Linked DNA regions of Homo sapiens: regions 1 and 3 are each linked to region 2. The links are contacts of gene promoters, found by promoter capture Hi-C in blood cells and fetal thymus (Javierre and others, 2016). All regions are on one chromosome and are shown on one strand. Each heading gives the region's core, a stretch centred on a gene start or on the middle of the fragment in contact. The rest is flanking DNA. Distances are from core to core; before and after follow the strand shown. Region 1 overlaps DCTD (dCMP deaminase). Region 2 holds the start of CLDN24 (claudin 24). Region 3 has its middle 15 kb from the start of DCTD.

Region 1 (3,193 bases), core at 661-3,160, 410 kb before region 2:
CTTACAAGTTGTGAGGAAGTCATATCTTAAGAAGGATCAGCCTCCTAACTTCTTGATAAATTAGTTTCTCAACACTAACCTTTCAGATGCCAAAGAAATATATCACGTGCATGGCAGTCAGGAAAATGTCAGTGTTCAAGGGGGTAAAGTAAATGGCTAAGTAATCACAAAAGTGACATCTATGCATGCTTAACAATATGCTAAGTCTGAAAAATAAAGATGAAATTTAAATAGAGAATTTAAAGAGGCACTGCCCCACACTGGCAAAGGTGTTTAAGATGCTCTGCTGAACTCTTTCGCCTTAATTAATTCCAGGTTTTTCAGCATTTTCCTTCCCAGCATTACATCCTTTTTAGAGTATCCCTGTAGACATAGGAACTGACTCGGGTAAGAGCCCCACTTCTACCCAACGCACTCAGAGTGAGGCCTCCCCCGACTCTTGGGGACACTGAGATGCTACGGTTCCCTCCCTGGTGCAGTGAGATGCAGCAGGCCAAGCAACCCTGGCTCCCTGGTCCATTGGGTGGGATAGGAGGCCAAGCACAGAGGCACTCACCAAAACCCAGAGCCCTTTGCCAGCAGAAATCAGCAAGGCCACAAGTGCTGGGCAGCTGGATACATGTGGCAAGCATTACTAAAAATTCCCTTAAGTTTAACAACGGGAACAAGTTAATTCTCCAACTCTCTAATTTGTAAACTATATCATCAAAATCGGTTACGAAAACCCAAGGAAAGAGTGATATCTGAATCACCAAGAGTATTTTACCTCATTTGATAACATTGGTATTTTGATTAAATGTGCTTCACTATAATGAATTCCACAAAGAAAAAGGAATGAAAAATGTCAACTGAATACTTCATCACAGGTTTAGCAACCCACCCCCTCATGAAAATAAAAATCTTCCCAAGTTTTTTAATCTTGTAAATTAGATAAATCTGCTGCTTCCTCTTTTTTAATTGTCATTCATCTGAAAAGATTCTTAGTATAATAACATTGCCTTCTTCCTGCCACTTAATGTTACTGACATCATATTATCTTTTGGATTTTTCAGGAAAAGGATGGAATAAAAAGCTTCTTTAGCAGAGGGAATTTTCATTTTCCACATTAATACTACATTATAATAAAATAGTTTTATGAAGTTTTGATCCCAAGACTGGAAGAACAAAAACACCCTTTAAAAATAACTCTCTAGAGACACAGCCCAGGAAAAGCTCCATCTTCCTATTATGTTACAAGTAGTGTGTGTTTCCCTCCTCCCCACAAGGCATCAATCAGGACTAATGACTTCCGACTTACGGAATTAATAAAGCAGTATTAAGCTGTATGTTATTTGGTAAACTCAAATTTACACAGTTCTCAAGCTCCCTGTCACAGTCCCTTGGGGCTGCTATAACAAAGTCCCATAGACTGGGTGGCTGAGAAACAATGGACATTTATTTCTCATGGTTCTGGAGGCTGGAAGTCAGGACACCAGCATGGTTAGATTCTGGCAAGGTCTCCTTTCAGGGTTGCAGATAGCCATCTTCTCCGCCTATCCTTGCACATGGAAAAAGAGTAACTGAGCTCCCTGGGGTCCCTTTTAGAAGGGCACTAATCCCATTCAGGAGAGCTCCACCCTCATGGCCTAATTACGTCCCCCCAGGCCCCACCTCCAAATATCAGCACATTGGAATTAGGGTTTCAACATGTGAATTTGGGGGGAGACACATTCAGTCCACTGCACTCCCCTTTGAAGAAATGTTACAGTGAGCCACGCATGTGGCTTTCTGCATGATGCCGGACACAGGCCACCCCTCCCCGAGCTCCTGATCTCTGAGGAGTAATTATTTTATCGGAGCCTCAGTCTGATCAACTGCAAAAAAAAATGAGACAATGATTGGCATTTCAGTACAGCTGAATTCATGTGCCCCACAGGAGAGACACAGGGAGGTAGCAGGAAGAGCACTGACCTTGGAATTAGGAGATGTCACCCTGCATGTGTGACATTATAGAAGTTACTTACAAGAAAGGAGGAGGCTTAGATCCTGTGGGCATAGAACCCTGAGACACTACTAAGGTATTGCAAGGGGTCCAAGCATATCCACAACTGGATAAATCCCATGTCCAGGACATACATAAACTTTTCCCAAACATACATAAATGCTATCCAATTAATAAAGTTCAGATTAACAAAAAATGTTACTGATACGAAGTAGTTTTTGTCATTGTGGAGTTTCTTACTCAAAAGATACTAAGAATTTAGCATTATGCAGGGGTCCTGGAAGTTTTTCAGCATTTAAAAGAGGGTCCTGTACATTCAAAAGAGTTAAAAATCATTGTCCAGAACTCGAGATAATCTCTAAAGCTCCTTTACAGGGATTAACCTATGAATTTACCCTTCCTGCTACAGCAGCTCAGTCACCATTAATGTAGATGAGGAAAGAATGGGTTGAGCTATCCAACTCCAGGCAGTATCCCCTTATTTTTTAAATTAATTTTGAAAATCTTAAAACGAAAGCAAAAAAAAAAAAAAAGACTTTGCATTTGAGTCAATTATCAGCAAACATTTCTGTGACATCCCAGGCAATCCAAACATTTACTTCTCTGTGGCCTGAAAAACCTTGAGAAGACAACAAGTGTACAGTTTATACACAGTCATCGTCATTTAGACTTTAAGCCCATCTTTACTGTATTATGGCGGCAGTAATACTAAATGCCTTTTAGAAACCATTTAATACCTTCTACAACTTTTATGGTACATCAAATTACAAGCTTACTCTCGTGAAAGAAAACTGTCGACATTCTAACACAGCTACATATAAATGAATAATTGATAAGTAAGAGCAAAGAGCTTTGAAAACCTAGAGGTATCATATGGATAATAAAAAATAATGCAGACAGACAACCAGTGCCCAGGAGCTCAGGAGCTATTCAATAAAAAACAATCGGTGAAGTTGGACAAATACCTATGCAGGTTTTTAAAAAAATTCCTTCTAGAAAGGGGCTCTGAAAGGTACTCTCCTCAATTTGGACAAAAGGCAGTGTCTCATAACCAACAAAATCAGCTACACGGGAAGTCAGGAGAGCTGGGAAGTCTGGGGTGTGGGGCAGGTGCTGCAAATGTACTGCATGGCCCTTGGCTTCCAGGTCACTGCTTAAAGATCTGCTGGGGGCTCTGGGTGACTGAAGAAGGCACAGGCCCCATTGGGAGGC
Region 2 (3,464 bases), core at 640-3,139:
ATGGCTTTCATGTTATTCCCAACCTTTCTAACAAAGAATTAAGTCTAAATGCAAAATGTTTAACTGATGGTTTTGGTTCAACTCCTCCTGCTTTGTGTTTCACTAACTGCACCTGTCAGATTTTCATCTCTTATAGTTCTCACATTTCAAATGTGCATGTTATGGTAATACTGAGTGTTATTTTTTAAAAATAGGTTTAAGAAAAGTATTTCTTAACCAAATAAATCAATCTTATCAGAAATCTCTCTACACCTTAACTCACTCCTGCGTTTCAGAAATTCCTCAGGCTACATATACCACATGGCATATGAAGCAATACTGAACTACAGATCTAGTTTATTTATCTGCATGCCTTTCTGTCAAATTCACGCTTGTGTGCATAAACACTTTTTTTTCTTATATATGCTTTCTGTGCCGAGGAAAGTTCAGCATTTGGACTCTGCAGGTTGGAGTCAGCATTTCTGTTTATTCACCACTAAAGTAGATATCCCCATGTTAGCGATTTTTCATTGAACAAAGGAAAGGTTTTATTCAAATGACCTGACAATATCAGGATATCAAGAAAAATGTCTTTGGAATTGTTTTTCTTTTTTTAATACGAAGGTTTTGAGGGAAAGGATGAGAGAAGAGATTGGCCACCATTTTAAATCTGAGAGGATCACAAGGTACTGAAAACTCTTCAGCCTCATAAAATCTTGCCGCACTGAGTGCCTGGTAATATCCTAAAAACAAACCACTTCTGTTCAAAGAAGAAAAAGGTCATTGTTGTGGAAATAACACTTTGAGGTTGGCTTAGCATGTGGTTTTGCTAAAGTAGAACACTTAAAATTTTCAGATTGTTAGTTTTTTTCTTTAGGAAACAGAAACTAAAGATCATTTCTGACTACCAACAGCAACAACAAAAAAAAGAAAAACAGAAAAAAGCTTTCTAATATGAAATTTACACATTAAAGCTTGAAACTGACTGTATTGGACAGCCACCACATTAATTTCAATAACCAGATCAATGAAGCTTGTTTCACTTCTACCTGTATAATGCTTACCATAATCATTTTCTTTTAGATAAAAGATTTTTCCTTCATTATTCAGATTTTAGAGGGAAGTGGGTCTACCTACTGTAGAAAAATAGTGAATGAGAAAACGTGAGCATCACAGGTTTAGCTACAAAACAAAGAGGTCTTTGTCATCACAGTTGATACAGGATACATCTCTGGCCTTGTCGGAGTCTTACACTTGAGGATCTGCTGTCCCATCTTCCAGGTAGGGACACTGAGTTTGCATTTGCGCCACTGCATAGTGGCCCAAAGCTAGGGGAGCGTGGCTGGAGCAGGCTGCGCAGTTGAGCAGACACCCTCCTAGCAGAAGAGAAAGTCCAGCAAACCAGCCCAGAAACAGGGCCTCCCCAAACTCCCACCTGGGGACAAAGTCTGGGACGTTCTCATCCCAGAACTCCTGAACCGTCTTGTGGGCAACCCAAGAGACGGGAACCAGGGCTGTGATTCCCGAGGCCCAGGACAGAATTCCTCCCAGAATGAGCAGTCGCCTCTTGAGATCTCTCTGACTCTCTCCAATTCTCAAACAGTCCAGGCCAAACCCAGAGACCAGCAGGCCCAGAAATCCCAGCCCATTTGACAGAAACATTAAGATCCTGGAGACCCTGAGTTCAGCAGGCAAAGCCAGGAAGGAGTCAAAGTCCTTGCATTGCATCCCCACTTCCTCTTGGATGACACAGGTTTGCCAGAGTCCCATGGTCCAGTTTTCCATTTCATTTAAGTCCAGGTTGAGGTTCTTCCAGTGTGGCAAATAAGTTGTAATAATGGATAAAATCCATCCCAGGAGAGATAGTAAAAGTCCAACAGATTGCATTGCTGTTCTAAAGATTAAAGCCATTGCGACAGGTCTTAGGACTTTGCCACCCCTATAGGATCTGCTGTCCTTTGTGGTTGACGGTAATGTGACAATCTTGGTTCTATGCTGCCTGGAATATAAGCTGTGGTCATTAACTCTTTGGGCACTCTGAAATGCGTTTTTGTTCTTCTTGAATATAATGTTTCACGTAAAGGACGAAGGACTCTGTTAAAACTATGAGTTGGGCTTTCTGATAAGGACTTGATCTGTTACCTTCCAATTTGGTAAAATTATATCCCCAATGCTTGATGATTATAAGTCTAAGGATGAACAAAGAGGGCTCTATGACCCCTCACCCTAAAATACAACAGAAATCTTTGTGCTTCAGTATGGATTAATTAGATTTTAAGTGGTGATAAAAGGCCAGCTCTTTCTACAACAGGACTTCATTGTAAGAGCTGAATCTGAAATTTCAGGGATGCAAAACAAGGTCTTGTAAAGAAAGGTAGACTGTTTCCTATAATCTCTATTCTTCTCAGACTTCCTTAACCTACACAAGAGCCTGGCCCACATCCTCGAGTGTCGCAGGAGCTCAGAGTTGGCAGGAAGGTTCCTCGGATTCCTTTGAAAGGTAGAGGCTGGCTTACGGGACTGATTAAAATGAAAAGGACTGAGGCTGATGCTGGGGGCTACTGAGTGCGGAAGGGAACGTCCCGGGCAGTTCCAGCATTCACTCTGTGGTTTTCTCCATCCTCGTTAAGGACTTGGGGGTAAAGCATGATATCTTAGCGTCCAGGGAGGTGTTTTTTGTCCAGAGCTGAGCTGTCCCCTTGTCATTTCAGCAGCTTACGCAGAGCAACACCAGGCTTCAAGACTCCTGCCAGCTCCCAGACAAAAGTCTCTGGTACAAACACAATAGCCACAATGGAGCTGAACTTCGAGGCTTCATCTTGTTTATTTTTTTGGTTGAGGCCACACCTTGAGAGCATACTTACGCAGAGGGTTGACCCCTCAGAGAACACAGGACCGGCCTCACAGGCCAGGACAAGAGGTCACCTGCCCCAGATTCCCAGGGCTGCACCGTCTCCTCTCCACATGGCCCCTGGGCATCCTGCACCTGCTCAGAGGAGATAAAATCAGATGGGCCCACAGGACAGAAAAGTCCCTAAAGGTGGAGCCACTCCCCTGAGAGGTTCTAACCTGGAGAAGTAGAACCACTGCCCATCACGTTGCAACAGTGGAGTGTAGCCCAGGATCAGAAATTATCTTCTATTGTGTCTCTAAATAGGAGATCGGAGAGACAGAACATGGATCCCGATGTATCCAAATTACTTTGGATAAGATTGCATAAGATGTAGATTTGAGGTGGTACTTTCTTCAGCTTTTCCTATCATCTTAAGTTTAAAAAGAAAAAACTATGCACCAGATGAACTCTTCCTTAATTTTTACAAATTTTCAGAATTCCTGAGGATGTATTGGTGCCCCCACCATCCTGAAATAAGTCATTCCAGGGTGCTTAAAGGTACCTGGATCCAGAGGGCCGGAGACCTGTCTGGGGCCTCATCACCAGTGCACAGGATATGGCAAGCTTGAGCTCTCTTCCAGGAGGCAGTCGG
Region 3 (3,260 bases), core at 240-2,739, 390 kb before region 2:
CTCACAGTTACACTCTGCTCCTGTTTTCCTCTCCTCCCACGTGGAAACATACTCTTATTGGAGTCAAGGTAATTGATCTCAATTTAGCTATTACAGGGTCATCTTGTAATCTATCATAACAAATGATGTTTTCATTACTCTAGATTATTATACACCATGGTCTACAGGATGTGAAAAATCTAATCCAATTCCTCACTTCATGTAGACACAGCAGAAATCCTTTCCACTGATGTTTCCGTCAAAAGATCTGTCAAAGGAAGGGCGAGAAAGAAGCACAGCCTCCCCGCCTCCCCATTTAGCAGGCAGCAGTTTTAAATATCTTTGTTGTATTGCTCTTGGCCAGATTCTACCGTCCGATATTTTTGATACTCCCAGGTCTTTAATTTTAATATAAAAATTTTGCTTGAAAAAATAGTGATTTTTCTTTTATGTGGGAAAGTATTATATTAATATAACCAATGTTCATTGTTTGATGCACAGAGCAGGAGATAAAGTGAACAGATAGATCTCACACAGCTTCAAAAGAATTTTTGTTTTTGTTTTTGTTTTAAGACGGAGCCTCGCTCTGTTGCCCAGGCTAGAATGCAGTGGCGTGATCTTGGCTCACTGCAACCTCTGCCTCCCAGGTTCAAGCGATTCTCCTGCCTCAGCTTCCTGAATAGCTGGGACTACAGGCGCCCACCACAGGGCCTGGCTAATTTTTATATTTTAGTAGAGACGGGGTTTCGCCATGTTGGCCAGGCTGGTCTCGAACTTCTGACCTCAGGTGATCCACCTACCTCGGCCTCCCAAAGTGCAGCTTCAGAAGAATTTGGATTCCATTTTTGAATTCAGACCCGTATCATCAGCTGAGATAATAACTAAAAATGTACCAGGAATTTTCTCTGACAATAACAGACATTGTATTGAATTCATTAGTGCTTGAGTCACCAAATAGAAGGTTATATCTGGGGAAAAGAATGAGTTTAGGGTTCACAAGAAAGCCAGTTGACATATGCTCGGTCATATTACTAGTATGAAAGCTTGGAGCCAAAGAGAATATTCACAGATTTGTGTGTACTTTTATTCATCATCAGCGGACATCAGTGACATAATCAGGCTCACCAAAGCCCCCTATTTCTAGCAGAGAGGAAACATTCTAGGTGTGACTGTAAAATTATAAGGCTGGCTGCTGTGGAGTCTGTCTCATTACTTTATAATCACATTCCATGGCCTCCTGAAGTGGTTTGCCTTGTTCTTGATTCAACAGTTTTACTAAAAAAAGAAATATTAGTTGTTATTACGCAAGTTTATTTTACTTGCACCTTTCAGAATCTTGAAGTAAATTTTGTCTATTGGCCAACCAGAGCCCCTCTTTTTCTGGTAAACTTTACACTTTTAGTTACCCACACTTTCTAGAAATTATGAAACCCAGTAATGCAAACTGGCATATGTCAGAAACACTATAAATATTCACAAACGTCATCATCATAATCAACATCACTAAGATTTACTGAGCACTTCACATGTGTTACATCAGGTAATTATTACAAAAACTCAGTAGGGATATAATTATCCCCATTTCACAGATCAGAAAATTGAAATTATAGAAGTTGAGTAACTCAGCAAAGTCACAGGGATAAGTGGCGGAGCCAGGAGTCAAACCCAGGCATTTTGACTCTGGAGGCTGCCTCGACTTCTGTATTATGCTGTCATCAAAAAGGGATAGACACAGTGTACATCAGTACAATGGATACTCAGTAAATAGGAAGAATCCTGGACTTTAAGAATTATTAATAATATGGGAAATGTTCATTTAAAAAAGATAAAGAGAAAAATGTGTTGAGAACTTACTGTGTACCAGATGCTGTGGTAAGTTGCTATATATACATTGTCTCATTTCATCCTCATATTAACCAATGACGCAACGAATTATCTTATTATCTCTATTTTATAAACAACCGAGTCAGAGATTTAAGAAGCTTGGCTAAGTTCACACGACTAATAAATCACAGAGCCAGGATTTGAACTTATGTCGATTTGACTCCAGAGCCTATGGACTCAATCTCTAACCTATACTGCATCTTAGCTTACCCAATTACACACATGGTTAATTTGGGCAATGTGTGCAGATATGTAGGGGCAAGACTGGAAGGAAAAACACAAAACATTTAAAAGTTGTCGTCACCAAGAGTCAGATTATGGATGGTTTTTATTGTCTTCTCCATACTTACCTGTATTTCCCAATTTTTCTTTGACAGGCACTTATTTCTTTTTCGGTCAATGAAAACATTATTAATAATACAGAACAAACATATTACCTGTGTGCCATGCACTATGGCCCCCGGAATCCCTGCTCCAGAAGTAACAGCAAGCCCTGCCCTCTAGCTTCAGCCTCTTCCTGCAGGCTGGATCCATTTCCTAACCTTCACTGAAACCAGGCTGTCCCAAAGCTTATCTGTGGAGGTGACTATTGCCACTCCAGACCATCACCTCCCACCTCTCTCCCTTGAGACTCACAGCATCTGTCAGTACCAACATATCCCCAACCGGACCCGACCTCTGTCCCTCAGGTATCCTTCATCACCTTTTTTGACATCTTCAGTAGCTACTTAGATGACCCACCCAACACCCTGCCAATCAGTTCCTGGGCTTCCTAGGGCCAATGAATACATTTTCCTCTGCTCCATGACTGCCATAGGCTGCGTGATTCACATGCCTCGCCCAAACTTGCATCACCTCCAGAACACTACATATACCAGCCATGACCTCTTATCTTCTATGTCACTTGATCAAGTATTTCTACCATATTTCGCCTTTAATTATGACATAAAATTCTCGGTTTCTTGATCTCCATCAGTCCTTTCCTTCCTTCACATTTTTTCTCCAGATTACACCCCATGGCCCGTCATTATAACCACCTTGCCCCCTCTCCCTGCATCATGCTTGCCTAAGGAGACCCAGGTGCTCACTCCTCCTCAGCTGCACCCAGCAGGTGAACTTTGGCCAGATTCATACAACTAAGCAAATTGGCTTCACTTTAAAATTCATCCTCCTGCACCCCAAATGGGCTTTCACTGTAACCCAGCAACCCAGTGCATTTTTGCTAGTAAGATTACTGTCCCTGTCTCCAAGAAGACCATTTCTTCTCTCTTCTCAAACTCTCTACCCTTCCTAGTGGCCTCCTCACATCCTCCATCCACTTTAACTTACACTTGGCTGAGAAAATAGGGGCCATCAGATCCGCCCTCACCTTCCCACCATCAGATTCACAAACTCAT

The links. The method cuts DNA at HindIII sites, captures the fragments that hold promoters and counts their contacts. A CHiCAGO score of 5 or more calls a contact.
Region 1: a fragment that was not itself captured here is called in contact with the fragment with the promoter of CLDN24 in region 2 in 1 of 17 cell types (endothelial precursors); the score reaches 5.3 in endothelial precursors.
Region 3: a fragment that was not itself captured here is called in contact with the fragment with the promoter of CLDN24 in region 2 in 1 of 17 cell types (M1 macrophages); the score reaches 5.4 in M1 macrophages.

Annotation. Positions count from the first base shown.
Region 1 is chr4:182,909,651-182,912,843 of GRCh38, forward strand. The region is part of intron 3 of DCTD (dCMP deaminase); the gene reads right to left. Among named protein-coding and RNA genes, the nearest start is that of DCTD, 6.1 kb to the right of the region's middle. The HindIII fragment of the contact is 1,680 bases long and covers 1,071-2,750 here.
Region 2 is chr4:183,320,537-183,324,000 of GRCh38, forward strand. CLDN24 (claudin 24) reads right to left here and starts at 1,890. Exons shown (of 1, transcript NM_001185149.1): 1 at 1,228-1,890. The coding sequence starts at 1,890. The coding sequence ends at 1,228. It overlaps WWC2 (WW and C2 domain containing 2), which reads left to right. Exons shown (of 23, transcript NM_024949.6): 23 at 1-241. The HindIII fragment of the contact is 2,424 bases long and covers 1,011-3,434 here.
Region 3 is chr4:182,930,914-182,934,173 of GRCh38, forward strand. No RefSeq gene overlaps it. Among named protein-coding and RNA genes, the nearest start is that of DCTD, 15 kb to the left of the region's middle. The HindIII fragment of the contact is 939 bases long and covers 1,021-1,959 here.